6 separate regions of the Homo sapiens genome follow, and all the other regions are linked to region 4. The links are contacts of gene promoters, found by promoter capture Hi-C in blood cells and fetal thymus (Javierre and others, 2016). All regions are on one chromosome and are shown on one strand. Each heading gives the region's core, a stretch centred on a gene start or on the middle of the fragment in contact. The rest is flanking DNA. Distances are from core to core; before and after follow the strand shown.

Region 1 (4,657 bases), core at 499-2,998, 1.1 Mb after region 4:
GCGAGGAAGGTTAGCGAAGTCTCAGTGTCTTGAGTTCATGTGTTGCCTGAATGATGCTTTCTGTATTTTTTCTCACAGGCTGATAGATGAGAGTCCTAATTTAGAAGGGGCAGACGTCAGATTCAGAAAGGTTTCCTTCGAACTCTGGTTCTGCCGCTCCCCGGTTGACCTTGAAAGAGTTGCTTAATCTCCCCAAGATTCAGTTTCCTTTTCTGACATACAGGAAATACCAAGAAAAGAGAGTTAGTTAGGGTGCTGGTTGATGAATGAAACAATGTACATGAAGGCCTAGTGTCTTCTTTCTTGGCACACAGTGGGAACTCAATCAGCGGGAGTTGGCGCTGTTGGCATCCTGGGTGTGCGATACCATCAGACCTAATCGTAGTAATAGTCAACACCTGAGCTTCAAGATTTCAGCAATAAGGTAATGACATGGCGCTTATTCTAAAATAAGTAATGCCTCCTTCTTACTGCTTTGGCCTATCTCTCAGCATTTAGAGCCGTCATTCAGCCCCTGGAGTTTATTATGTCTCTAAGCTAGACAGAGTGAATAAAACTTTGCCTCAGCTAAGCATTCTCTTGTATATGCTGCTCTCTGGCTGTGTCTGAAAGAAGCAGCTGCTAGAGTTGGAGATGTCCATTAGGCTGTGGAATTGGGAGTTCCTGGAAGAGACCTGCTGTAGAATCAAGGCTAAGGTAAAGCAAGGGAGAATCCCAGGGCACAAAATGTAAGGAGGTGCCCACTCTCGGGGCTGACCCTGCACTTACATGAATCTGAGAGTGATACGCCCTTCAAGTTTGCATCCTTCAATTTTACCTCGCTTGCCTGTAATAATAACACAGAGCCACATGCATCTATGTGATTTTATTTGCCCCAGATTTCAGCTGCATATGACAGGCTAAGACTAAAACACATTGTTTACAAGATTTGGAGAAAACATAAAATGATGACACTCACTCTCCGTTGGTCCATGAGGGCTTGCTTCCAGAGCCTTCCCCCTTCGGGCTAGTTTCCTCTCAGATTCATTCAGTATTCATAGAGCATCTCCAAGGTTCTTGGGATACTGGGATACGGCAGTGAGCAAGGCAACTCTTTCTCATGTAGGTTACATTCAAGCCTGGGAGTGGGGCAGACAATAGACATGTAAACATCCAGTGTGCTGTGGCGGTTCTCCCTTCCTTCCTTCCAGACACATTGTGGGATTCCCCTCATTTAAAGGTAGCGTGGCCAGATGACTTGCTTCAGTAAATGGAATATGAACAGAAGTAGCATGTGTCACCTCCAGGCAGAGCCTTTGTCATGCCCCTTTCCCCCACACCCCCTGCAGCAATCAGCAATGCTTCAGGTGGTGGAAGTGCCATCACCTGGGCTCAGAGTAAGGGATGTGAACAGGTGCTCCATGATGGACATGGAGTGTGTGAGAGGGATGAGCCAATAGTTGTTAGTAAATGTTTAATGGCCAACTCTCCAAAGGAGAAGGGCAACATGTGTGTGTGCACACATGTATGTGTTTCACTTATAAAGGATGCCATTGACAAATAATAAAATACACAGTATTCTACATTGAAATTGCATCTATCCAACTGATACCCACAGAATGCTTTGGTTCATTTTTTGCTGAAGTATTGTATCCATAATCAGTTTATGGTTCCCATTTACAAAGGACTGTAATTCCAACCTGCATGTTGGCTGATATGTTCATTTATGTTAACAAATAAGATAAAACAATAAAGACATATGTTAGAACTTCACTCATCCATCTATGGTGTGAGTGACTTCTTTGTTGAATTGGGGATAAGTTTTTGAATACTAGAGAAATACTGCCTCAATTTTTTGTGCCATTCGTTCACAGTGTAACAGCTGCAGACATGGCACACTTGTAAGTTTAATCTGCATCATAAAATATTTCCCCATTACTTTCATAAATCTAGACAAGCACTAAAAAAAATAAATCAAACCTTGATTTGTAGCATTTACTGACTTCAGCAGTGTGTAAATACTCTCAGTATGGCTGATTTCAATATGGCATCACCAGACGAGGAGTTAGGTAGAGATGCATAGTAGCATGTCATTATATAATACTGTATTTCCACCAGGCAGCTACAAGAGAAATAACATCAAGTGCATAGGTAATAGTAGTATGTAGTAATAATAAAATTTTTAACATATTAATAACAGTAGTAAAATAAGTAGTAATATAATTAAGAAGGGATGCATTTTGAGTATTTATTGCCTTTGGTTTTAATATAATTTAGTTAATTATAACTTTATGTAATTTAACTTTTTATAAATTATATATGTTTGCATAACACCTGGCTCACAAATTTCCTGAAAAGTTAGCAATTGGCTCTCTGGAGCCAGTACAAGCTGGTTCTAGCATATCACTGGAAAACCCTTTATATTACAAACCATTTAAATTTGGGATTTGTAACCTTACCATTATGTAGCCTATCATGGCTAACTCAGGGAATGGTAAGTGCAGAGCGGAACAATGCATCTAGGTAAAGGGGTTATGGAGTATTATTTTATACAGGGCAGTCAGAGTAGTACTCTCTGAAAAGGTGACATTTGAGCAGTGACCTGAAAGAAGTAAGGAACTGAACTGTGCAAATATCTGAAGGAAGATATTTCAGGCAGAGAGAACAACATGTGCAAAGGTCCTGAGGTAGGGACTTGGCTAGCATCTTTGAAGAAGAGCAAGAGGCCAGTGTGGCTGGAACAGAAAGCAAATGATGGGGTGGGGCAGAGAGTAAAGAGATAGGAAATGACTCAGAAGTATCTATGAGCTAGATTGCACAGGATCTGTAGACTGTTGTTAGAATTTTGCCTTTTCTTCAAGTGGGATGGAAAGCCAAGGGATGTTTTTGCCAGAAGCCTGACATGACTTGAGTATTAAAATGAGCACTCTGGCTGCTGGGTGGATAACAGATCACAGGAGGGCAAGAGCAAATGTAAGGATACCAGTGAGGAGGCGATGATCCAGAGGGGACAGGATGATGTGCTTGCAGCAAGCTGCGGCTGGTGGAAGGCTGAGCAGTGGCCAGCTCTGGACATGTACTAAAGGTAAAGCCAGCAAGATTGGATAATAGATTGGATGTGTGGTTTGAGAGAGGAATCACTGATGACTTTCAGATTTTGAATCTACACATTTGAAAGGATGGAGTTGCCATTTACTTTGGAAAAGGAGTGCAGGAGAAGCAGATTATTTGGACGATGGAACATTAGTCTCAGGATACTTGAAGTCTGGGATGCCTGTGAACACCTGAGCAGAGATTTTGCGTAGGCTAAAGTTTGAGAGGTCCAGACTGGAGATTCACGTAGGAGCTGTCCACATAGTGCTTGTACTTCAAACTCTGGGACTTGGTGATCACCATGTGATATCTCCAAGTATATATATTAAAGAGAGAAAAGAACTAAGCAGGGGACCTGGGAAGGAAAATGCACAGGCAGCTCCGTCTCAAGGAGAATTGTCAGAAATTCCTACTACACCATTTGCAGCCTCACCTTGGAGGACAAGGTCAGGAGAGGCAGTGACTTGGTATCTCCTTTCCAGGGTGGCCTCCTCTTCCCAATCCCTTAAGAGAACTTGTGTCTACCTGTCCTGTTGCCTGGAAGGCATGGGTATACTCTGGAGTCTAGAAAATAAATTTGTCTTGTAGCTAGAAAAAGATTTCCTGGGATCCTTGTTGCCCTGGGTGTTTCCATGATCACCGCGACTCTGTCGAGTGTCCCCCATTGCTTTCCAGACCCTCATACCCCCTTCATCTGATTTAACCCTGGTGCTACTGGGGCAGACAGAGTAGGGTGCCTCTGAGTGTTGGGGTGGAGAGTCACGCTAACATTACCAGTGAAAGCAAGACACCTACGCATCCCTCCAGGTGAAGGTCTCATATAAGCTGAGCTTGGATGGTAGAAGCTAGATGAAGGGAGGCTGCATTAGATTGTACCTGATGGCCTCCAATCCACTGCCCTCACTCTGGACAGAATGACCTGTGCAGAATGGGCATCTCATCCCATCTCTGGCTGCCCCCATTAAGATCTTCAATGGCTTCTAAAGACCCTCAGGAGAGAATGCAAGCTTTTTATCAAGACTAACACAACCCATCTTGGTCAGGTCTTGCTTACTCCTCCAGCCCCAGTTCTAGCACTCCTAAAACTTCTACATATGCTCCAGCCCTGCTGAACTACTTGTGGGTACTAAAATGATCCACATTCTCTCCCACCTCCCTGAGCTCACGCGAATTATGTTTCATTTTGCTTCCATGCCTGGAATTGTTAAACATGTTTGGCTATATTTTAAAGATGAACACCATTTACAGTAGCTTTAATGGCATTCTCTAAGCAGAGCTCAGTTGCCTGGGTCCAGGCTAGATCATGGTAAATGAAGCACAGGCATTTCCTCTGACCAGAGACCCAGGGAGGGATGGGGCCTCTCATGTTCCTGACACATTTTCGTGGAGCTATATGTGCTGTCATCTCAGAGGGTAAGTCAGGGGTTGCTGGCTGAGCACTGGAACTCTTGGGAATGGGGTCACATGGTCTTGAGAGGAGCAGGATGATGGTCGTGGGATGTGGGACCAGTAGTGGTGGCAGCAGAGATTCTTAGGGAGACAAGGCTAGAGCTTGGCATGCTATTCAGGAAAATGTTCTCCCAGG
Region 2 (4,737 bases), core at 691-3,190, 1.5 Mb after region 4:
CAACCTCCCAGGTTCAAACGATCCTCCTGCCTCAGCCTCCAGAGTAGCTGGGGATTACAGGCGCACACCACCACGCCTGGCTAATTTTGTTAAATTATTATTTTGACAGAGGAATAAATACATGAATTAAAAAAAAGAACAAATTATGCTTGCCCTCAAATTCCTACGTAGTAAAGATACTATATACTTGAGCAACAAGAATACAGGACTGAAATGTAATACAGCAACAAAGTTACAAAGCCTTCCAGGAGCACAAATGAGAAAGAGATCCCCTCTCCCTGAGGGAAGATAAAGATTTTTTTTTATGCAGGAGACATTTGAAATGGAACTTGAAAAATGGGTTTGAAAAATACTACAGGTAAAGATGGAAAAATGGCAACATAAGCAAAATATGGGATTAAAAAAGGGAGGGAGAGCAGAGAAAGTAATTCTCAATTGGCTGAAGATTCAAGTTGGTAAAGGAAACTAGTGAAAGCAAAGAAAGGCATGTTGGGTCCAGAACACGCAGGAGCTAGGGTCGCTTGCCATGCTAGAGTAACTTAAAAACCTGTCCTCTTTCCATCACATTAAACAGTGGTGAAAAATCCGAAAGCCATATTAAAGAAGAGATGTCAGGGATATGACTACTTAAAATTCAGGAAACTACTTTTGTAAAATCAAGAGCTGTTAGGAAGGGTTATACCTGTGCCCTTATGGTGTGTGGCAAACTTGCTCCCTCGAAACCCTACTTGACTCAGATACACAAAATTTTAAATGAAAGCAACTGAAGATGTGGACAAATACTGGCAAGGTAACAATATCAGTACAAAGCAAAACTGTGTGTGGCTACGTGCTTCCAGTTTTTGTATCAATCTCAAGGCAGCAACGTTTACGTAGGTACCAATGACACTCAGCACAGCTTCATGTGCTTGTAGATGAAGTTTTAAAACCACATTAAGAGGCCGGAGACGGTGGCTTACACCTGTAATCCCAGCACTTTGGGAGGCCGAGGCGGGTGGATCACCTGAGGTCAAGAGTTCGAGACCAGTCTGGCCAACATGGTGAAACTCCGTCTGTACTAAAAATACAAAAAAAAAAAAAAAAAAATTAGCCAGGCGTGGTGGCACGCGCCTGTAATCTCAGCTACTCGGGAGGCTGAGGCAGGAGAATCGCTTGAACCCGGGAGGCAGAGGTCGCGGTGAGCCGAGATCACTCCAGCCTGGGCGACAGAGCAAGACTCCATCTCAAAAGATAGATAGATACATAAAAATAAAAACATACTGAGGGTTTGGGTTTGTTTTTTTTTTAATGTCGGGGAGGAGAAAGGTGCAATCCTCCAGGCTATTTTATTCATCAACAAATCAAGGAGTGGGTGGAGGAAATAAACACTCATCGATGGAAGAAGGGGAAGGGGGATCCTGTCTTTTCTATTCCTCTCCTGCGCTCGCTCCCTAGCTTCCTCGGAGCTTCCAGTTGCTCCTCCCGCTCTGCTGGTCTCTTCAGTCTCCCTCTTCCCGCGGCACACCCCTCCCCAACATAACTCCACTCTCCAGTGCTCTCCAGCCACCGCCTGTTCGTCCCCACAGTCCCAGGTCTCCTCGCCTCCTCAGTTCCCAACCCCTGTGTGGGCTCCCCTCCAAGATCCCTCCTCAATCCACACATTCTGGGCCCCTCCACTCCTCATTCAGCCCCCACAACTAGATCTCCCCAACAGGCCCCACTCTGCTGGTCCCCACTCTGTCTGCCCTTAGCCCCTGACTCCTCTCTCCAGTCCCTTCACACAAGGACCCGGAGTCCCCTTCCAGTCAGCAGACAGCTGCCCCGCTCTCACCTTGATCTCCTCCACCCGCCGGGTCAGGCGGCTGATCCGGGTCCCCAGATCCTCCTTTTCCAGCCTCCCGGAGTGTGCCAAAACTTCTGTCACGAACGAGGCCATGGCCAAGACGGGAACCAACGCTGACTGGGTCACTCTCGTAGCCAGCGCCGCAGCTCCCGTCCCGCCGGCCGTCTTGACGCGAGGCCTGCCGGGAAACGGAGTCTCGCGGGCCTCAGACCGCCGCCCGGAAGGCGAGGGGCGCACTACAACTCCCAGCAGGCACCGCGCCAATCCCGAGATGGGATTTCCACGGTGTCCCGTAGTTGGCAAACTGTAAGCAGACGCGTTTTCTTCCTTAGTTGTTTTCAAAGTTCGTTGCTTCCCGCCCGTTTTTCACTGGAGGAAATTAAACGTTTTTAATAACCAGGTCTAACTGAACCTTTCTAAACTTCAAAAGGCTTACTTGTAAAATTATCTAACTGAAAGAGCCAACGAGCCCATCTCGATCTTTTTTCCTCAACTTTTATTGGGCCGCTGTGGCACCAGAATCTACGAATGGCGCCCTCTAGAGTTGTGTAAAGAAGTGGCGTCACCTCATTATAAATAAAAGGTTGCTTATAATTGCATCTATGTACATATATTACATCTACGTGATACATTACACATTTACATTACCTACATTACATATTTATATTACTTAGATATACATAATATTAGTCCTGTGTGAACAAGATACTTAGTACTTTCTGTCATATTATAAATATATAAATGTGTCAAAAGCTTTTAAAAATGGTTTCATTATTTTAATGCATTGCATACAGAAAGATGTTCACAATATTCTATGTATACTATGATTCCTTTTTAAAAACTTAAGTGTATAACCATTGGTCAGAAAACAAAAAGTATGTAAGTATGTATGTAAAGGACAGACATCAAATTATCCTATGGGTGGTGGATTTATGGTATTTATTCTCTTCTCTGCCCTTGCTTTCTCTATTTTTCTGCAGTAAACATACACAGTCCTCCCTTGGTATGGGGGGATTGGTTCCAGAAACCTCCCCTGCCCCAGTAGCAAAATCCGTGGATGCTCAAGTCTCTTACATAAAATGATGTAATGTTTACAAGTAACCAGCACACATCCTCCCCATACACTTTAAATCATCTCTTGATTACTTATAAGACCTAATACAAATCAATCTAAATGCTATAGAGTCGTTATATTGTATTTTGATTTGCATTATTTTTTGTTGTTGTATTGTTATTTTTTATTAGTTTTTTCCAGAATATTTTTGATCTGTGGTTGGTTGGATCCGTGGATACCAAGAGCCAGATGTACTGTTTTGATTAAAAGGTTTTTGGTTTTTTAAAAAGATATATTGTGAGGGTTGACCCCAAGTAGGCACTGACTCTAAGATCCCTGACAATTGTTAAGTGTCTTTGAGACAATCTGCTTATCCCAGTGAAGCAAGGGCCAATTCACATGCCATGAGCAAAGGAAACAAAACTGGGATTGAGAGAGGAAGCACTGAAAACAGCCAAAACATCCTGAGAAACTCCCTTCCTTGGAAAACCAAATCAATTTCTTTTTGGTAGACCTGTCAACTTTGAATTCTAACTGCAACTAATAATAAATGCCCAATGACAAAGAATGACTGATAGATGAAAATTCTGAAACTTTGTACTGCATATTTATTAAGCAATTATCACATAGCAGACATTGTGCTAGGTCTGGGGACCCACAACATGTGAATATATAATCACAGAAAAATATGATAATTACTAATTTGTAGGTAGATGAGGGATGGATCTAGATTTAGTGGAACTTAAATCTTATACAGTTGCAGGGAGGGGAAGGACTCTTTAAAGAAAAGAATATAAAATAATGAATACAAAATTAGATGTCAGCCTTAGAAGGGGCTTGTGCAAGTAATGAGCTGTGAAGTTTAATCTGCCCCTGAGGAAGATGCAAATGGCAGAGGAAATATTGGAGGAAGAGCACCCAGTCTCTGACTGAATTAGAAAGGTTTCACAATGTTAACATTTACAGGAGGCCATCACTTTGGACTGAGTTCCTGCACTAAGCCCAACAGACCAAACCAAAATGGAGTCACTCATGCTAAAGCTCTACTTCGCCAAACCAAAACTAAGCTGTCTGTCTGACCTTCTGAGAAATCAGGAGAATGAGAGATAATCACCAAATTCCCAAACCTGCCAGTTTCAGTCTTCATGATAACGAAGTTCCCTCTGTTTTAATTCTTACAAAAAAGTACCTGAACTAAACTGATGCCAATCAATCAGTTATTTTTCTATTGTTCTGTTTCTCAGTTCCCACCTTACCAGGAAATTAAATTTGAAACAGCCAATCTGCTTTTTGTTCTTTGTGTCTCCTTTCTTCAGCCTTTTTCTTTCTATAAAACCAACCTCATCTGTTCAGCTCATCGGGACACTGATTCTACTTTATGGAATGAAGTGTTGCCTGATTCTAGAATCACAAATAAAGTGAATTAAGATCTTTAAACTAAACTCGTTGTAATTTTGTCTTTTGACAACGGTAATGAGAAATCTGAAGTGAGAATGAAAGGAAGTGCTACTTTGAGGTTGAGGTTCTGGGACCTCCCTCCAGAAAACCTGTGTGTACAGACCCACAAAACACAACTGCCTAAGTTCTTGCTTCTTCCTGAGCAGAGAGACTACTGGGTAAGGTGAAGACTGTTCCTCAAGGTCCAAGGAAAAGTCAGGGAAGAGCCAGAGTTAGGCTGAGAAAGGAGAAGAAAGAGCGTGCAGCATGGAATGTGATGGCTACACACAGTCAATGCATGCAGCAATGAATGAATACTTGAATTTAAAAAAAGAAATTAATAAATGCATGTGTTCTGTATTCCCTCATTAACCTCACCTTCTTCATAGTTCACATTTATCATGGCTTATATGTCTCCCAATTC
Region 3 (4,445 bases), core at 236-2,735, 1.0 Mb after region 4:
ACAAGGCCATCCCCAATCCCTAAGCACAGTGTGCTGACTCATAGTGCAGCGATCCAATGCATCTCCACCACTATGGGTAAAACACGCTAGACACTAGAAGACAATACACTTGCTGGCTGTATCTAAGAGGCTTCACCTTAGTGAAAGGTAACACTCTCCTAATCAAACTCTTGTATTTTAGCGTGGAGGCTTCTGTTCTCTCACTTTAATTTCATTTGCTCGCTGATCCCTAGCCCCCAAATTAACCCTGCTGTGCTGCTTCTGGCATTGCTGAGCTTCTGAACTGGCCTTATGGTATTGATACTGCACTGAACCCTCTCTAACCTTTGTCAATTTAATTTACTAAGTTGAATTAACCTTTGATTCTGTGTTTTCTATAGTTGACCTAATTTTTTTTCTTTTTATCTATTTTTTTCTCTGTTTCTGTCTCTACCTTCCCTTTCCTTCTGTCCCCCTCCCCTTCCTGTGTCTGTCGTCACACTTGTCACCTTGGACGTCACTGGGACATCCCCACTGCCACATTTGTTTTTAAACAACCACATTATCTCTGGGGACCCATTGCTTGACACCTGCAGCAACCTTGGGAGGCAATTCTGCATCCTACACCTTTGTCTCATTGCTTTTCTCTGCAGTGACTCTTCTTTTGCTCTGTTAGGAACTTGAACACAAAAATTAAATTTGCTTAAAAGCCCAGTTCCTATGAAAAAGATCAGTGCCCCCTTTGGAAGAACCTGGCAGGACCACCATGGCCACAGCTGCTGAGCAACCATTCTGTGTGGAAGAGAAGGTTTTGTGATTGGAAAAAGCTTTACCTCCAGACATGTCACCACTCACAGATACTTTTGTGCCACTTCATAAGGAGTTTGCCCCCTTTTTAATGGCAGTAAAAAGAATTTGAGAGCTCTTTCTTTAAATGCTATTTTTAAAAACCATCATGCTAGATTTACAGAGAAGTTTCTGCATATCTGCTACTTGTTGCATTTTGGGTTCAAACCTAAATATGATGTAGCAGAGGAAGAATTCTAAGTACCTTCTAAAGCTTGTGTCAGATTGTTAAAATCACCACACATTCCCCTCATTCTAACTCTGTGCTCCTTGTCCTCCCTTCAATAATAATTGGCTTTGCTTGCAATTAAGCATTTAAGTGCCCATGTTAAAAGAGCCAGACCGCACTGATTCACATGAGCGTTTTGCTGACATGATGGGCAACTGAAGTCACCCCTGTTGCCCATGCACTGGAAAAAAAGTTGAATTTGTTGGATATTTTCTGGGGCTGATGAACGTTCTGGGATGTGCTTTCAGTCCTCGTATTACGGCCAGCACCTTACACTGTCTCTGTGAACGGGGCCAAGCCATGATGTGCCAACAAGTGTCAGCTTTGAAAGGTGTTTGTCTCCCAATCGGGGTGACTCCCCTGCTGCCTGGCAGCATGTCGCAGATCAGCACAGAGTGGGGCCGTGGTTCAGCAGTGACCCACAGAATGGCTTTGAGCATCAGTCTACAGGACAGGTTGGAAGCATCCACTGTGAACCAGGCATTAGTCCCCTACCTGGCCTGTGTGTGCTCAGTAGAGAAGGAGAGGGACAGGCCACTCCCAGACTGCCCAGCCCAGGAGGGTTAATAAATTGGGGCCGAGCCAACCTGTCAGTGCTTCCTGAATGCCCCAGCCTCTGTATTGGTGCGTTGGTTCAGTGACATTTTCTAAACTCTCCTGAAAATCCAGCTGCTCCTCCCTGCTGCTTGGGAGTTCACCCAGGAGAGGAAATGGGTGTGTTTTGTTAAGGTCCCTTGTGGAGACTCAGGGCTGAATCCTGCTTGGTAATATCAGTGTGTGTGCTTGGGGATGGACCTTCTACTGAATAAAAACTCCCTCCCTCCCCCCATTGTGGTCACATATCATTCTACATATCTCATCTCTGAGCATCTCCATGGAAGCTTGATTTTTGTTCTTTTTGGTTTCTTTATGTATTTTTTTCTGTTGTTATTATTTTTTAATGTTCAAAGACTAGCCTTTCCCTTTGGGATTCCAAATGATCCCATGCTGTGGTCTGAGGGGCAAAGCCACCTATGTTGGCGCTCGCCATTAATCCCCAGCGCTCAGTTTAGAGGCTCACGTGCAGACATCAGAGGCTCCATGCTGCACAGTAGCTCAGGCAGGGTAGTGCCTCTCAACCCAGCCACAAAACTCTCCCCGCTGGAGTCCCAGATGGCGCTTCACACCAGGGCAGTGGAGGCAGGCATGGTTTTTGGGCACAGGGCAGAGCATAAGGATCCCAGGTCAGTGTGGGAGAGCTACTGGCTCTTAGGATCACCTTGGGCAGAAGTCACACGGCTTCATCCTAGGAGGGCCCAGCTTGGGAGTCTGCCTCCCCCTGATCCCAGGACCACCCACAGGAGAGGGGCAGTGTCCATCTTTCTGAAGGGACCCTTTGGAGATCTCGTCCTAAGTGTGGAGAGGACTGACGTGGCCCTGTCATCTCAACACATCCCAGGGTCAGGCAGGCCTCAGCTGAAACAATGTCAGGGTCCTCAAGGGTCCCATTTAGACAGACCCACGGCTTGTAACAGTGCGCTCCTCAGGAGGCAGCACTAGCGCATACCCACTCCCCACGGACACTGAGTTCCTGGTGACAGCTGCAGCCCCAGCCCCGCCAGGAGTCCTGGAGACAGCAGCCCTCAGAGACCCTGCAGGAGTGAGTGCACCCCACCTTGCTCAGCCACACCCCACTCCCCTGTGCCCTGTAGTTGTGCTGCCCATGCTCCACACACCATGGGGCCCCTTTGCTCATTTTTGGACTATTTATACAGCAGGTTTGGATCATGTTTTTCTACTAATAAGAATGCTAACATTGTTGTGTAGATAATCAGTGAGGGCTTTATGAAGTTTACACCTTTGCATTATTAAAGGAAATAACAGTTCATGTGAACTCACCAGCGTGGCTTGATTTTATTCAATAGTTGTGTCTGACAAAGCAGCAAAGACCCTTTCCCTCCGCCTCTCATGTACCTGGATAGACTATTACCTAGAGAAATAGTAGCCTGGTGAATGAAATACTTTTTCTTCCTAACGGGGAGCAATCTCTTTTTCCCAGGCATCCTAAGAGCTGTTAAGAGGCATTGCTGCCTTGGAGTCCCCAGCAGGCAGTGGGAGGGGAAAATGCCTTTGCAGAACTGGGGAGGTGGTCACTATGGGGATGGGGCCACACTCTGAGCCAACAGATGCACAACTCTGTGGCAAGGTCACCTGATGACACAGCAGCCTTTATACTATCCCTAACAGAGGCTGCACAGAGTGAGCTTGTGGAGAGGGAATCTGAGAGAAGATTCTCTTTGCAAACTGTATTCTATTCATAATCACACTTAACTCAGACGCATCCTGCAAGCCCCTGAGACCAGCCATCTGTTTAGCTGATTCGAAGGAGCAAGCAGACATGTAAAGGGCTTATGAGTGAACCAGAACCCCAGCTCAACAGTTCCAAGAGTCTGACCATCTTCTGGGAGTCTTGGGGGTGAAAAGGGCATTTCTGCTGCACCAGGGTCTCATGGCACAAGGACTCAGGCCCATCTGGATATTTATAAAATGTGAGACCCATGTTCCTATATTAAGGCATACAAAAATAGGCATCTGTGGGTCTCATTCTTGGAGCAAGCCAGTTCCCTCTTTAGTGCCAACCCCTCCCAAGCCAGGAATCACAGAAGATGGACAGCTCCACCTTCATAATCTCCCTGTCCTGGGCAGCTCTGACCTCGAGGTTATGGGGAAACTCTTCCCCAGAAGCCTTCTTTGCATCCAAGGTGCACAGGTGAGTTAGTCAAGGGAGGGCTGAGGGAAGACCATAGCAAAGACAGACCCATGGAGGTTTATATTTTTCCTTTTATGAAATATTACACAAGAGGCAGGAGATGGCCTTTGTTCTTCTAGTTATCTTGGACTAAACAATTCTGTGATAGCCACTGAGAGGGAATGGGTGTTGGCTTTCGCCTTCAATACCCTGCTGCCCATTTCACAGCCTGTCCCTTCTTCACAGCCTCTTTTTTGTAAAAGCCACAAACATTCTCTTCCTAGCTTAAAGAGCATCTCACCTGCTTGAGGAGTTTAGACTCAGTGTTGGCATACAGTATGGTCGCTTTTCCTTTGGGGCATACTCTTTGTTTTCTCTTGATCCACTCAATACCTTAGGTCAAGTTTGTTTTCAGGGTCACTGGGTGAGACAGCACAGTGCACCCTGGGGTGGCAAATCATGGGATCACGTGCTCCTCTTTGTAATGCAGGGGAGGGAAGACCTAGGAGCGTGGTCCTCATAAGAATCACCTGGGCTGCTTGTTCAACTCCTGTTTCCTGAGCCTCATACCCAGTGATTCAGATCCCATAAAAGTGGGGAGCCCCAGATTCTGAATTGTTAACAAACACCCTAGGAATTTGCTACAGGTGGAGATATATTGAG
Region 4 (4,311 bases), core at 1,464-3,963:
CGAAAATCTCTAAATGTTATTTGAAGTTTTTTCTTTACAGTACAATGGGGTAGATGAGACAAACATCTGAAAATGTATGGAGAGTGTTTGCTAAATAACCTGTTAGTAGTTTAATGCAGAACAAACAGAATATATAGCTGTAAATAGGAGATATTTGAGGGAAATCACCATTTGAGCTTATTTCTATCGCCCCCATGATTTTATCTTTCTTTTTACAGGAAACTTTTCCAAGCCTGTTATTAATCAGTGACTTGTCCTGCTTTTCATCATATACAGTGATGATTTTTCTCATATAGAGTGGAGCTGTCCTCTCCAGTACCTGGAACAATGCCAGCCACATAGTAGATGCCCAATAAATATTTAGTGAAAGAGTGAATGGAAGCAAGAGGTGACATGATTCTGGGAACTGTGTGTAGTTTGGTTACTCTTGTGAGTAGATGTGAGGAAACAAGATCCTTTCACTCTCAATGTGTCTACACTGGCAGAAGAATTGCTAATATGTGTTTAGGGGTGTCTGTATTCACACTATGCCAACCCAGAGTAATAAATGGGTCCATACATGCTTGTGGATAAGAATGGCTTTAGAATTTCCCTTAGTAAGGATCATTACACAACAGTCCAAAGGACTGTTGTCACGTGGTCCTATTTGTGCTCTCAAATTCTTGCTCTTTAAAAATTTTTTTTTAAAGAAACGGTATTAATCCTAAGCAAAAAGAACAAAGCTGGAGGCATCACGCTACCTGACTTCGAACTATACTACAAGCCTACAGTAACAAAAACAGCATGGTATGGGTACCAAAACAGATATATACACCAATGGAACACAACAGAGGCCTCAGAAATAACACCACACATCTACAACCATCTGATCTTAGACAAACCTGATAAAAACAAGAAATGGGGAAAGGATTCCCTATTAAATAAATGGTGCTGGGAAAACTGGCTAGCCATATGTAGAAAGCTGAAACTGGATCCCTTCCTTACACCTTACACAAAAATTAACTCAAGATGGATTAAAGACTTAAATATCAGACCGAAAACCATAAAAACCCTAGAAGAAAGCCTAGGCAATGCCATTCAGGACATAGGCATGGGCAAGGACTTCATGACTACAACACCAAAAGCAATGGCAACAAAAGCCAAAATAGACAAAAGGGATCTAATTAAACTAAAGAGCTTCTGTACGGCAAAAGAATCTACCATCAGAGTGAACAGGCAACCTACAGAATGGGAGAAAATTTTTGCAATCTACCCATCTGACAAAGGGCTAATATCCAGAATCTACAAAGAACTTAAACAAATTTATAAGAAAAAAAATCAAACAACCCCATCAAAAAGTGGGCAAAGCATATGAACAGACACTTCTCAAAAGAAGACATTTCTGCAGCCAACAGACACATGAAAAAATGCTCATCATCACTGGCCATCAGAGAAATGCCAATCAAAACCACAATGAGATACCATTTCACACCAGTTAGAATGGCGATCATTAAAAAGTTGGGAAACAACAGATGTTGGAGAGGATGTGGAGAAATAGGAATGCTTTTACACTGTTGGTGGGAGTGTAAATGAGTTCAACCATTGTGGAAGACAGTGTGACGATTCCTCAAGGATCTAGAACTAGAAATATCATTTGACCCAGCCATCCCATTACTGGGTATATACCCAAAGGATTATAAATCATGCTACTTTAAAGACACATGCACCTGTATGTTTATTGTGGCACTATTCACAATTGCAAAGACTTGGAACCAACCCAAATGTCCATTAATGATAGACTGGATTAAGAAAATGTGGCACATGTACACCATGGAATATTATGCAGCCATAAAAACGATGAATTCATGTCCTTTGCAGGGACATGGATGAAGCTGGAAACCATCATTCTCAGCAAACTATCACAAGGACAGAAAACCAAACACTGCATGTTCTCACCCATAGGTGGGAATCAAACAATGAGAACACATGGACACAGGGTGGGGAACATCACACACCGGTGCCTGTCAGGGAGTAGGGGGCTGGGGGAGGGATAGCATTAGGAGAAATACCTAATGTAAATGACGAGTTGATGGGTGCAGCAAACCAACATAACACATGAATACCTATGTAACAAACCTGCACGTTGTGCACATGTACCCTAGAACTTAAAGTATAATAATAATTAAAAAGAAAAAAGAAAAAGAGAAACGAGGGTCTTGCTCTATTGCCCAGGTTGGACTCCTGGGCTGAAGTGATCCCTCTCCTTCTCAATAGCTGGGGCTACAGGAGTGCGTCACCACGCCCGCCTGGCTCAATTCCTGCTCCTTTTGGTCTATAAAGCGGACTGTGGCCCTGGGGTTCATCCGATTGAGTCACCAGTCACTGGAGCTTTACAGGAGAGAGTGGGAGAGGAGGCTCAGAGAGGTCACTCAGGACCCAAAGTGTGCCCAGACGGGCCCTAACTACGTGGCGTGACCTCAGGCGGGGCAAACAGATCAAGGACACAGGGTCCCCACCCACCCTGACCACTCCAGGGTATGCTTAGGTATCCCAAATCTTGCTCTCCGAAGAGATTCAGATAGCGAGAGACACCCTTAACTGTCTCCCGAGGCCGGGATTGGCCAGAGCGGAAGCGGAGACGCACTTCCTAGGGGCGCGTCTGGCACGCACTGCGCAGCCGCGGTGGGAGGAGGCACCGGCCGCGCGGCGGGAGGAGGTGCCGGCCGAGCACCGCAGACAGCGCCGGGAAGATGAGCACGGAAGGTGGTGGCCGTCGCTGCCAGGCACAAGTGTCCCGCCGCATCTCCTTCAGCGCGAGCCACCGATTGTACAGGTAGGGTGTGCACACAGGTACAGCGGCGGGCGGTGGGCGCCGGGCCCCGGAACGTCACCGGGGCGGGGCCGGCGGGCGTGCTGACGTCGGGCCCGGGAGGGGCGCGGGGGCTGCTGGGGCGACGCGCGCTGGTCGGCTTCGTGGGGCTTCGGACGGCCTCCAGCATCCTGATGGGGGCTGGAGTGTCCCCAGCCCTGGAGGGGTGGGGGAGCTTGATGGTTAACGGAGCCGACTGCGGAGGGCGATGGCCCACGTCTGGGTGCGGGGCCCACACCCGGTTCTGCGACTCGAAGAAACGTCTCTGCCCCTAGGAGTCCCTTGGTGTAGACCACAGGGTTGCTGTGAAACTCAGCAGTGTTAAACTCGCCTATGTTACACAGTACCTGGCGCGGCGTAGACACTCAGTAAATGTTAGCTAATCTTGTATGCCAGGAGCATTGGCCACCATATCTAATGTAATTACAAGGCAAATTTTAGCCCCTTTTTTACCAAAGACTGGATGAACCCAGTCCCTGGTGGTCTAGTGGCTAGGAGAAAAAAAAAAAAAAATGAGCCCAGACGTTCAGTTTCCGAAGCAGCATAGTTGGGATTTGAATCCCGATCATACATACTGCTTGCATGCACTGACGAGTTGATTTTGAGGAATTTTACCACGCACTAACCAGCTCCACCCTCTGGCCCTCCGTATCGTCGTCTGTGAAATGAGGATGACCATCGCTATCTAACAGGATTCATCCCTCCATTCGCTAAACCAGGTTTTGTTTCGTGCTTGTCAGGGCTTGTGCTAGGTAACGGATGCATCAGGGATCTTGTATGGGGTTTCCAATCTGGCCTATTTTGTGGAGGGTACACTGAGAAAATTTTGTGCAAAAGACTTTAGCACTCTAAATACAAGAAGTGGCTGAGCAGGAGAAAGTGGGGGTGTGTTATTCCATTTTGCATTGCCACAAAGGAATACTGAGACTGGTATTTTATAAAGAAAAGAGGTTTATTTGGTTCTGCAGGCTGTACAAGAAGCATGGCACCAGCATCTGCTTCTGTTGAGGCCTCAGGGACCTTCCACTCATGGTGGAAGGCGAAGGGCGAGCAAGCAGGCAACTCACAGGGCAAGTGAGGGAGCAAGAGAGAGGAGAGGAGGTGCCAGGCTTTTTTTAACAACCAGCTCGCCCATTGACTAATAGAGCGAGAACTCACTCATTGCTTCAGGGAGGGCACCAAGCCATTCATAAGGGATCCACTTCCATGAGCCAAACATCTCCCACTAGGCCCCATCTCCAACACTGGGGATCACATTTCAACATGACAATTGGAGGGGACAAACATCCAAACTACATTGGGGGGAATAATAAAGAGGATCTCAAAAAAAAGGGGTTGTATAATAAGCTTAAACACCTGAGGGTGGTAAGGTCTCATAGACGATGCGAAATTGAATGGATGGGTATAAGTATAAACATTAAGCAATTTGTTTTCTGTCTGAGACGACAGCCAAAGATTGTAAT
Region 5 (4,626 bases), core at 836-3,335, 1.6 Mb after region 4:
AAAAAAAAAAAATGCTTAGCCTGACAGCTGGGTAACAAACAAACAAACCAGTCTGAGACCTTAGTTTGTGGAGGCCTTTGGTTGTACCTAAAGGCAGCCAGCTACTGTTAGGAATAAGAAACTATTAATAGTTCTCAGCACTCCCCCTGGTGGATCCAAATGATACAGACTACTCAGCACCATACACTCCAGATGTCCATCCATTCCTTTCTTTGCCAACTGTAGATTCCCAATAGCTGATCAGGAAATAACTACTGTTAAGGAGACACAAAACAAAATATTTCACACGATTACCAAGGACAGTTGAACATCTATTAAAAGCACAGGCTATGAAGTCAGACACACCAAGGATTAGTGTCCTAGTTCTACCACTTACAAGATCTACGACCTTGGATAAATCATGGTCCCTATCGTCATCCCAGGGTTAAAATAATATAACTGAAGCACTGCACACAAGACTCAATATTGACAGGGATTAAAAAGTGAAAGGCAAATGGTGGCACACAGGATGTTAAACTGTAAAGGGTAATCAGTAAGAAAATTGATCAACTTCCCATGAAACAATCTTTGCGATGAGTTTTAAAACACTAAAGCACCTCTGAATATCTGTAAAGCATGGCCTACCATTAATCAAAATACATTTTGACCCTTGAAAAACACAGGTTTGAACTGCATGAGTCCCATGAGGATTTTTTTCAACCAAATGCAGATTGAAAATAGAGTATTCACAGCATGTGAAAACCCAAGTGTATGGAGGGTCAACTTTTCCTATATGTGGGTTCTGCAAAGCCAACTACAGAATTTGAGTATGCATGGATTTTGGTATATGCAGGGGTCCCAGCAATTGCCGGTGTCTGCTGAGGAATGACTACATAAGAAACTCCATTCTAAGAAAATTGCTGTTTTTGCATTCAAAAATTTGACAAAGTAGATAAGCTTACATGCAATGCAAATAGCCAATGAGATTAAAAAGCTTCAGTTACCACTAGGTGCTGCTCAATAATTGACTGTTGCCTTTTATTTCAAACACTGGCGCGTCAGTCCCCATCCAGTTTATCAACCCTCTAATCTGCTTTTTGGTTTTAAAGAAGAAAAATTGGAACAAGACAAATACCAAGTATGTCCATTTCCCAAATGGAAAATATATATTTAAATAAAGACCATACTGCACACCAAAGGTAAAACAAATACTTTTATTGCACATTTATAAAATCTGCATAGTTGTATCAATTTTTTTCCCTTTCATGATTCCATTAATCTTTAAAATTTGGTTAAAACACAATATCCAATCAGAAGCCTTTTAAAAATGATCAATGGGAAGTATTTTTCTCTACATATACATATATATATAGTTTTGCATATGTATGCTGGTTTTTTTTTTTTTTTTTTTTTTTTTGTACAAACCCACATCCCTTACTTTTAAGGGCAAAAAAGAAGGCCGGGTACGATGACTTGTCTGCAATCCCAGACTTTGGGAGGCTGAGGGAGGCAGATAGATCACTTGAGGCCAGGAGTTAGAGATCAGCCTGGCCAATATGGTGAAACCCCATCTCTATTAAAAATACAAAAATTAGCCAGGTGTGGTGGTGCATGCCCGTAATTCCAGCTATTCGGGAGGCTGAGGCACGAGAATCACTTGAGCCCAGGAGACAGAGTTTGCAGTGAGCTGAGATTGCACCACTGAACGCCAGCCTGGGCGACACAGTGAAACTGTCACAGAAAAAAAAAAAGAGCAAAAAAGAGGAGGTGGACCTAAATGGTCTTTGGGCCAGCAGTAGCCCTATTGACTGTTTTTGACAATTTTTAGGTATTAGAAAATTTTACCTAAATGCCTAATAACTATTAATGGATGATCTTCAGTCAAGTTACACAATGCTCTTCTGTCTAAAGTCCTTAATACTTTACTTTCTTTCACTGAGGACTGAGTATGAGGTTTTCTGGTTTAAAGATAGAAAAGAAAGGAGAGAGACAGGTCTCTTTTGACTTTTCAACATCTCACTGCCATGTGAGCTTATATTCTACCCACATGTAAAAGGGTGCAGTTCATCAGCAACCCATTTTGTTATCTCCTGGCAAGAGCCAGGCAAGGTTTATATTTCTAATCTCTTGTAGTTAAGAATTTTTAAATGTCATCTGTATTTGATAAAATAACTAGTAGCTGTTCATCTGGTTCAGGTTCTCATGAATCATTCTTCTATTCTGCTGTCAAAAATATTTATGCCTGAAGGATAATTTTAAAAGTGGCAAGAGGCTTAGAAAAGCCTAAGCATTGTTGTAGGTACAAGGCATTTCAGGTCTTCTGGCGTAATTCAACACCTTAATACACTGCTTTCTGCCTTTTCTAGTGAAACAGCTTTTATGATTTTGTACCTAAAAAGTGCAATTTTATTTTCAATCCTTCTTTACACATGCAGCATGGTTGGGGTCTGATCGGAATCTTATGTGCCCACCTAATCCTTTTCCCAAGGTGAGCACTATGACAACGAACTTCTGTGCAAGAGGCAGGCAGCCAGGAACCAGAATGGGCCTTGAACATGTGGGAGCTTATTTCACTGTCACAGTTGAAACTCCCTGAATTGACTCCATGACAGCTGCAAATCGGCTACATAGGTCATAGGGAGAATTGGGTCGAATAGTTGGAGGCTCTTTCAAGACGATGATTTCTGCAGAAGGATCTAGAAGTCTGGGTAGAAACTCCCCTAGGCACAGCTGCAGATTTTCTGTGGAGGGAAAACAGATGGTTACATATACAGCTAAACAGATTTCTGAGTAAAAGTGAACAAGCCTTCTATTAGCCCCTTACCTAACCTCAAAGGTCAAAGCATTATGCTGGCCAGTTACTAATAAATGATTATTCCTTCAGGCCAAACCAGGAGCAAAGGCAAATAAACCAAACTTTAGCTCACTGCTATATAACAACTATATAATTACTTTATTACGAAAGGGTCTTCTAACCAATTGTCTTCTTAAAATACAAGGAAGTAGATATGATACTCTAGCATAGATATGATGGTAATTATTTTCTTTCAAATGTTTACAATATATCAGTGTATACACATGGTTTTAAATCAGGGGTGTACAGTCTTTTGGCTTCCCTGGGCCACACATGAACCTCACTAACAATAGCTGATGAGGTTAAAAAAAAATTCATAATGTTTTAAGAAAGTTTAGAAATTTGTGTTGGGCTTCAGGTTGGACAAGCTTGGTCTAAATAAAAACTGAAGACAGTAAAGGGAAACACATGGCAACTAGCTATTACAGGATTTTTAAATAAATACTATCAACTTAAACACTTGAACAAGTCAATGGAATATCTTTTTTTTTTTTTGAGACGGAGTCTCACTCTGTCGCCCAGGCTGGAGTGCAGTGGCGCCATCTTTGCTCACTGCAAGCTCCGCCTCCCGGGTTCACGCCATTCTCCTGCCTCAGCCTCCCAAGTAGCTGGGACTACAGGTGCCCGCCACCACACCCGGCTAATTTTTTGTATTTTTAGTAGAGACGGGGTTTCACCATGTGAGCCAGGATGGTCTCCATCTCCTGACCTCGTGATCCGCCCACCTCAGCCTCCCAAAGCGCTGGGACTACAGGCGTGAGCCACTGCGCCCGGCCTTTTTTGTTTTGTTTGTTTTTTAAAGATAGGGTCTCACTCCAAGCTGGAGTGCAGTGGTATGATCTTGGGTCACTGTAGCCTCGGCCTCCCAGACTCAAGCAATCCTCTCACCTCAGGCTCCTGAGTAGCTAGAACTACACTATACCCAGCTAAGTTTTCATTTTTTGTAGAGGCAGGGTCTCACTATGTTGCCCAGGCTGGTCTCAAACTCCTGGGCTCAAGTGAGCCACCCACCTTGGCCTCCCAAAGTGCTGGGACTACAAGTGTCAGCCACTGTGCCTAGCCCCATCAATAGAGTATCTCTATGTCAGTGAGAACCTAACAAAGAGGATTCATATCAGAATATATAACAATTTTCCAAGTCTACTGAACTCACCTAAAAACAACCAGCTTTACATTCCCTCCTTAAGATGCTTTAAACAAGCAAGGACAGTCCACTAATTAATCTTGAAGTCATCATAGTTAATATGCTATATAACTTCAAGCCACAGAAAAAATTCATCAAGGCACCCCTCCCATAACCATACTCTGCATGATTTTTTTTTTTTTTTTTTGGATATGGAGTCTCATTCCGTGGCCCAGGCTGGATTGCACTGGTGCTATCTCGGCTCATTGCAAACTCCGCTGCCCAGGTTCAAGTGATTCTCCTGCCTCAGCCTCCCGAGTAGCTGGGATTACAGGCGCCCATGACCACACCTAGCTAATTTTTGTATTTTTAGTAGAGATGGGGTTTCGCCTTGTTGGCCAGACTTGGTCTTGAACTCCTGGCCTCAGGTGATCTGCCCACCTCGGCCTCTGAAAGTGCTGGGATTACAGGTGTGAGCCACTGCACCCAGTCAGATTTTGATTTTTAAACTATAAAAGAGTTCATCTTTTGGCACATGAGAGAGTAATGGAAGTCTGACATTCCTGGAGAGCAGTGACTTTTTTCAAACCAGGCTTGTTGGTTGCCCATGGAGGTGATTTGGCAGTCATGGGGAAGCTAAAGGGAGGTTAAGAGGGGCAGAGGCCCAGGC
Region 6 (4,823 bases), core at 2,310-4,809, 1.1 Mb after region 4:
CACTATCAGAAAACCACTAGACTAGACTAGTGATTGTCTAGTTTTCAGTGAATTCTGTTAGCTTCATTATTTATTTTGATGTGCAGATTGTCCCTGATCCGGTCACTCAGTGGGAGCCCATTCCATCTGGTTTCTGGTTTTTACATGACCTAATCATTCTTTGAGCACTTCATTACTTCCTGACACAACAGGATGTTACATTCTCATCTCGTCCTTTCTCTTCTTCAGTCCTGGAAGCAGCCATTTCTTCAGGAAACCTAAGTTTCAAGAGATGCTGGTGTAGTGTACTCATTGCTCCCAGGACTTCTCAGTGGACACATTGGTTTTCTCTGGAGAGCCTTGATACAAATGGGACATGGCAGAACTAGAACCTGAATCAAGACTTATTTTACTCTATGCTCAGAGCTCTTTATTTTTCTCAGTGAAAACTGGCTTAAGAGGAAGAGACACATATGTGTATGGATACATACATGTACCCTATTGTCACAGGATACTAGAAATATGTGGATAACCTCACATCTTTATCCTCTTCCTAAATGGTTCTTCCAAAGTCTGGATGGACAACTGTTTCCCCAGCACAATGAATTCAACCCACCAAAGCTTCTCATTATCCCTTTCTTCATCCCTCCTCCTCCAACTCCTCCCCTCCCCCGCCTTCCTCTGTTGCCTATCACAGAGAAGGGCAGAGCCATCCATTCGCTTCTGTAAGCTGAATAGCTGGCATTGTCATCAGAATCCTTCCTTTCTCTCTCCCCATTTCCAATTTGTCAATGTTTTCTATTGATTTTCTCTACTGAACATCTCTTGTATTCATCTCCTCCTCTCCAACCCGGCAACTGCTGACTTGGTCTCTCAACGCCTCCCATCTGTGCTTTGCAATTGTATGCACTTCCTTGCCCATAGGCAAAGTCCTGGTGGCTGAGCACCAGCCACAACACTAAGAAGTCAGCAAGTGAGAGGTGAGTAAAGGACATACATGTATAGTCTGTGGAGCTGTCTCAACAAGGAATGGCACAATCCAAGGCTACATCGATGCTCTAAGGCAGGGAGGCAGAGAAAAAGGATGGGGGTGTTCAGGCAGTGAGGACCAGTCCAGGGAGACGTAATAGAGGAAGGACTCAAAGCAGAAGGCAAGGCACAGAGCCTGGGGTCATTCCTCTGTCCGTAGCCGGAGAGCCTCCACCTTGTCCGGTTTCTTATCTTTCTGTAGTGCAAATCTGTGACTCACTTGCTTAGAACACATCAGTTGTTTACCTTCACCTGCAGGACAAAATCTCAATCCTTGGAATATCCCCCCTGTCTCCCTCTGTGCCTCACTGAGTGCAACTTCCCCTTGTATTACTCACTCCTATAAGATGGAATTACTGATAGTTTCCTGATGACACTGTGTTCTCTCACCTGTGTGCCTGCACACCTGCTCGTCACTGTGCCCACAGTGCCTTGCTCACCTGGCAAAGTCCTACTTCTCTTCCTTCTCCTATGCTTGTGTCACACACTGCACAATTCTCCACTGAAGCATTCATGCCATCGCATCATAACTGTCTGCAGGTCTTGCAGATTTGCAGGAAAGACCATAAGCTCCTTGAGGCCACTGTCTTCACATTGTCTTGTCATTGTCTTCATGCCCCTGCTCCATCCCCATGCCACTAAGTTGTTGCTCAGTACATTTGTTGAATGGATAAACAAATGAATTCATGAACTAGAAGTTGGGAGGAGAGAGTGGTTTAGGACAAGAAGTTGTAGGGGATTTTCTTTAAACTTTTAATGTGGAAAAATATTAGATTTACAGAAGAGTTGCAAAGATAGTATGAGGAGTTCCTGCATACACTTAACCCAGGTTCTTCTAATGTTACTCCCCTTTGGTTATATCTGATATAGCCAGAGAAGTCTTACCAACTAAAGAATTAGCATTAGTAGAGTGATACTACCTAAACTAAAAATTTTATTTAGATTTCACCAGTTCTCTGCCAATGTCCTTTTTCTGTGCCAGGATCTCATCCAGGGAACCACGTTGTACCTAGTTCTCAGGAGCCTAGGTTTCTGCTTAGTCTTCTCCTTAATATTCTCCAGACTGCAGTACTTTCCTTGTCTGTCATGACCTTGACACTTTTGAAGAGTACTGGTCAGGTATTTCACAGAATGTCCCTCCATTTGGGTTTGTAATGATTTCCCTCACGATTAGAATAGGGTTATAGATTCTGGGGGAAGAATGTCAGAGGTGAGGTCCTTTTCTCATTGCATGACTTCAGGGATTATGACATCAACGTAAAAGGTTACTACTTTCCCCTTCCATACTCTGTTCTTTAGAAGTGAATCACTAAATCCAATGAACACTCAAGGGGAAAGGAACTGAGCTCCACCCCTTAGAAATGGGAGTACCTACAATTATTACCTGGAATTCTTCTGTTGGGGATATTTATTTTTGCTATAATCCAGGTAGTCAAGTGAAGCCTATGGACCTAGTCTCAGAATATTTTAAATTTTAATGTATTGATTTTTTGAAATGAAATACATGGGATTATAAAGGAAAACAGTTGCATTGATATACGATTATTAAACTATTTTTTAAAAAAATTTGTGGCATAGGAATTAAGAAGAAATTACTAAGGCAGATAGTGAAGGTACAGGAGTTCTCAGTAAGATTTTCCTTTTTAATGAAAAGCAGCCCCCAAATCATTTTCTAACAAAGAGCAGCCTGTAAAATCCAGATGCAGACATAGACAAACAAGCTAGAGGCTTGCACCAGTGAATGCCAGCAGGAAAAAGCTACCTGAGACTAGACATGTTCAAAATGGCGGCTCCATCTTCCCTTCTCTTTAACAGCCAAGTGTACAGTAAGGGCTTTCTGGTCAAGTGAAAAGCCCATTTGCATAATAAGATTAGAGTGGGGTGGCCAGCCTTCCCCACATACTATGTAAACGTCACACCTGATCGAACCAATCTGTGGGCTCTACATAAATCAGACACCACTTCCTCAAGTCTGCCTATAAAATCCAGAAAACTCCACCGCCAGCTCGTCCTTCCTTTTGGAAGCCCCTCTCTCTCACTAGAGAGAGAGAGAGCTGTTCTCCTTTCTCTTCCTTTTGCCTATGAAACCTCTGCTCCTAAACTCCTTGTGTGTGCCTGTGTCCTAACTTTTCTTGGCATGAGATGACGAACCCCGAGTATTTACCCCAGACAATGACACCGCATCAGTAATACATGTGCTTATTTATCAGTTCTTCAAAACACAAGGTCTGGTAGCATGTGTAAGATGCTTCAGTTGGAAGCTTCGACTGTGATTTCAAAGTGTTGCTCAGCATAAGTGACATCACAGCTGATGCTAATACCACAGTGGGTTGTTGCCTATATTAACAGTGAAACTAGAAAGTGAAGCAAAAATATTCACAGATCTTTTGAAAGAAGCGGCATTGCCACTGCAAATTCTGTGAGACAGGCAAAAAACGGTGAGTTCCCAAAGTGTGAGAGGGGGAAAACTGGCCTCCGAACACACATCCTCACTGGGGAACCTGAAAATCCAGATTACAGAAGGATTTAACCTTACCTAGAGCTGAAATGGACTTAGTGCGAAATATAAAAGTAGAAGCAGCAACAGGAAGAGGCTTGCAGGCACTCTTCCTCTCCAGCTCAATCCCAGGGAGGCCATCCCTGACTATATCTCATAGGAGCCCTTGGGGAAGGCAGCCAGCAGAATTTGGGAGGGGTCACAGGGTGAAAGAAGTTTCCAACTGAACTTTGTAATAATTTCAACTGTGCACAAACTCTCTTGAGCAGAATCCAGGGGTGAATGACAGTGTGGGCAGATGGGGAGGGGTGTGGCTTCAAAGTCTTGCTGGTTTTCTCAGCAGGGAAGCTTATAGCCTGGGGCAAGATCTGGGTTCTGCCTGCAGGCTGCCTGAAGATAAACTCAGTGCTACTAGTGGAGTACAGCAGGAGAGAGACCGGCCTCACCAGGCAACTGCCTGGGAGCTGGGTGAGCCCTATCCCTACTGGCTTTCCCCCACTTCCCTAGTGACAGAGGCAGCCATAATCCCTTCTGGAACATAACCCCATTGACCTAAGAACCACTCCACCACCATTTCTCACAGTAGCCTGGGCAAGCCCTGCACAAGGAGAGTCTGAGCTCAGATAGGCCTAACCCTGCCCCCACCTGTTGGTATTTCTCTACCACCCCGGTAGCCAATCACAAAAGACATAAACTCTTGGAAGCTTTATGGCCCTGCCCATCACCTGAGAAACCCAAATACTTACCCTGGCTAAGGTAGGGCAAGCTTATATCCCCCTTCTACTATCTCAGCTGGTGCTCTCTTAAAAGCACCACCTCCTGGCTGGAGGTCAACCAACTCAGGACATCACAGCAACTCATGACAGAATAACCCAGCTCCAAGGAAAGAGAAAACAACAGCTAATTCCACTGCCTGCAACATGCTGACTAACCAGTGGTCCTGAGTTTGTCCCTGTGGCAACTTCACTGCTAGCGTCAGCAGCATTTGAGAAAGCCAACACACTAAACACATCTACAACCACGGACTCTCACAGAGTCTATTTCACTCCCCTACCACCTCCACCAGAGCAGGTCCTGGTATCCCCAGCTGGGAGACCTGAAGATGGATCACATTGCAGGGCTCTTTGCAGACATTCCCCAGCACCAGCCCAGAGCCTGGTAGCCCTGCTGGGTGGCTGGACCAAGAAGAGTAATAACAATTGCTGCAGTCCATCTCCCAGGAAGCCCCACCCCTAGCGAAAGGGGGAGCACGCCACATCAAGGCATCACCCCATGGGACAAAACAATCTGAACAACAGCCCTTGAGTTCCAGATTTTT

Evidence for each region. Contacts are between HindIII fragments. The CHiCAGO score rates a contact against its expected background, and 5 or more counts as called.
Region 1: a fragment that was not itself captured here is called in contact with the fragment with the promoter of PTS in region 4 in 4 of 17 cell types (non-activated CD4 T cells, total B cells, naive CD8 T cells and 1 more); the score reaches 13.6 in non-activated CD4 T cells.
Region 2: the fragment with the promoter of ZW10 here is called in contact with the fragment with the promoter of PTS in region 4 in 4 of 17 cell types (total CD4 T cells, naive CD8 T cells, fetal thymus and 1 more); the score reaches 8.4 in total CD4 T cells.
Region 3: a fragment that was not itself captured here is called in contact with the fragment with the promoter of PTS in region 4 in 1 of 17 cell types (non-activated CD4 T cells); the score reaches 5.8 in non-activated CD4 T cells.
Region 5: a fragment that was not itself captured here is called in contact with the fragment with the promoter of PTS in region 4 in 6 of 17 cell types (total CD4 T cells, activated CD4 T cells, non-activated CD4 T cells and 3 more); the score reaches 9.8 in total CD4 T cells.
Region 6: a fragment that was not itself captured here is called in contact with the fragment with the promoter of PTS in region 4 in 9 of 17 cell types (total B cells, total CD4 T cells, naive B cells and 6 more); the score reaches 11.7 in total B cells.

Annotation. Positions count from the first base shown.
Region 1 is chr11:113,278,532-113,283,188 of GRCh38, forward strand. It overlaps TTC12-DT (TTC12 divergent transcript), which reads right to left. Exons shown (of 5, transcript NR_199709.1): 2 at 3,506-4,657; 3 at 1,960-2,101; 4 at 959-1,118; 5 at 1-212. Among named protein-coding and RNA genes, the nearest start is that of NCAM1-AS1, 7.0 kb to the left of the region's middle. The HindIII fragment of the contact is 4,658 bases long and covers 1-4,077 here.
Region 2 is chr11:113,771,752-113,776,488 of GRCh38, forward strand. ZW10 (zw10 kinetochore protein) reads right to left here and starts at 1,941. Exons shown (of 16, transcript NM_004724.4): 1 at 1,811-1,941. The coding sequence starts at 1,915. RefSeq lists enhancers at 1,672-1,941, 2,072-2,131. The HindIII fragment of the contact is 9,750 bases long and covers 1-2,573 here.
Region 3 is chr11:113,262,271-113,266,715 of GRCh38, forward strand. All of the region lies in intron 17 of NCAM1 (neural cell adhesion molecule 1), which reads left to right. Among named protein-coding and RNA genes, the nearest start is that of NCAM1-AS1, 9.4 kb to the right of the region's middle. The HindIII fragment of the contact is 896 bases long and covers 1,038-1,933 here.
Region 4 is chr11:112,223,715-112,228,025 of GRCh38, forward strand. It overlaps PTS (6-pyruvoyltetrahydropterin synthase), which reads left to right and starts at 2,714. Exons shown (of 6, transcript NM_000317.3): 1 at 2,714-2,812. The coding sequence starts at 2,730. RefSeq lists silencers at 2,585-2,994, 3,352-3,646. The HindIII fragment of the contact is 9,611 bases long and covers 1-4,193 here.
Region 5 is chr11:113,796,696-113,801,321 of GRCh38, forward strand. USP28 (ubiquitin specific peptidase 28) reads right to left here. Exons shown (of 26, transcript NM_001346252.4): 26 at 1,180-2,720. The coding sequence ends at 2,545. Among named protein-coding and RNA genes, the nearest start is that of CLDN25, 19 kb to the left of the region's middle. The HindIII fragment of the contact is 2,228 bases long and covers 972-3,199 here.
Region 6 is chr11:113,292,876-113,297,698 of GRCh38, forward strand. The region is part of intron 1 of TTC12-DT (TTC12 divergent transcript); the gene reads right to left. Among named protein-coding and RNA genes, the nearest start is that of TTC12-DT, 19 kb to the right of the region's middle. The HindIII fragment of the contact is 584 bases long and covers 3,268-3,851 here.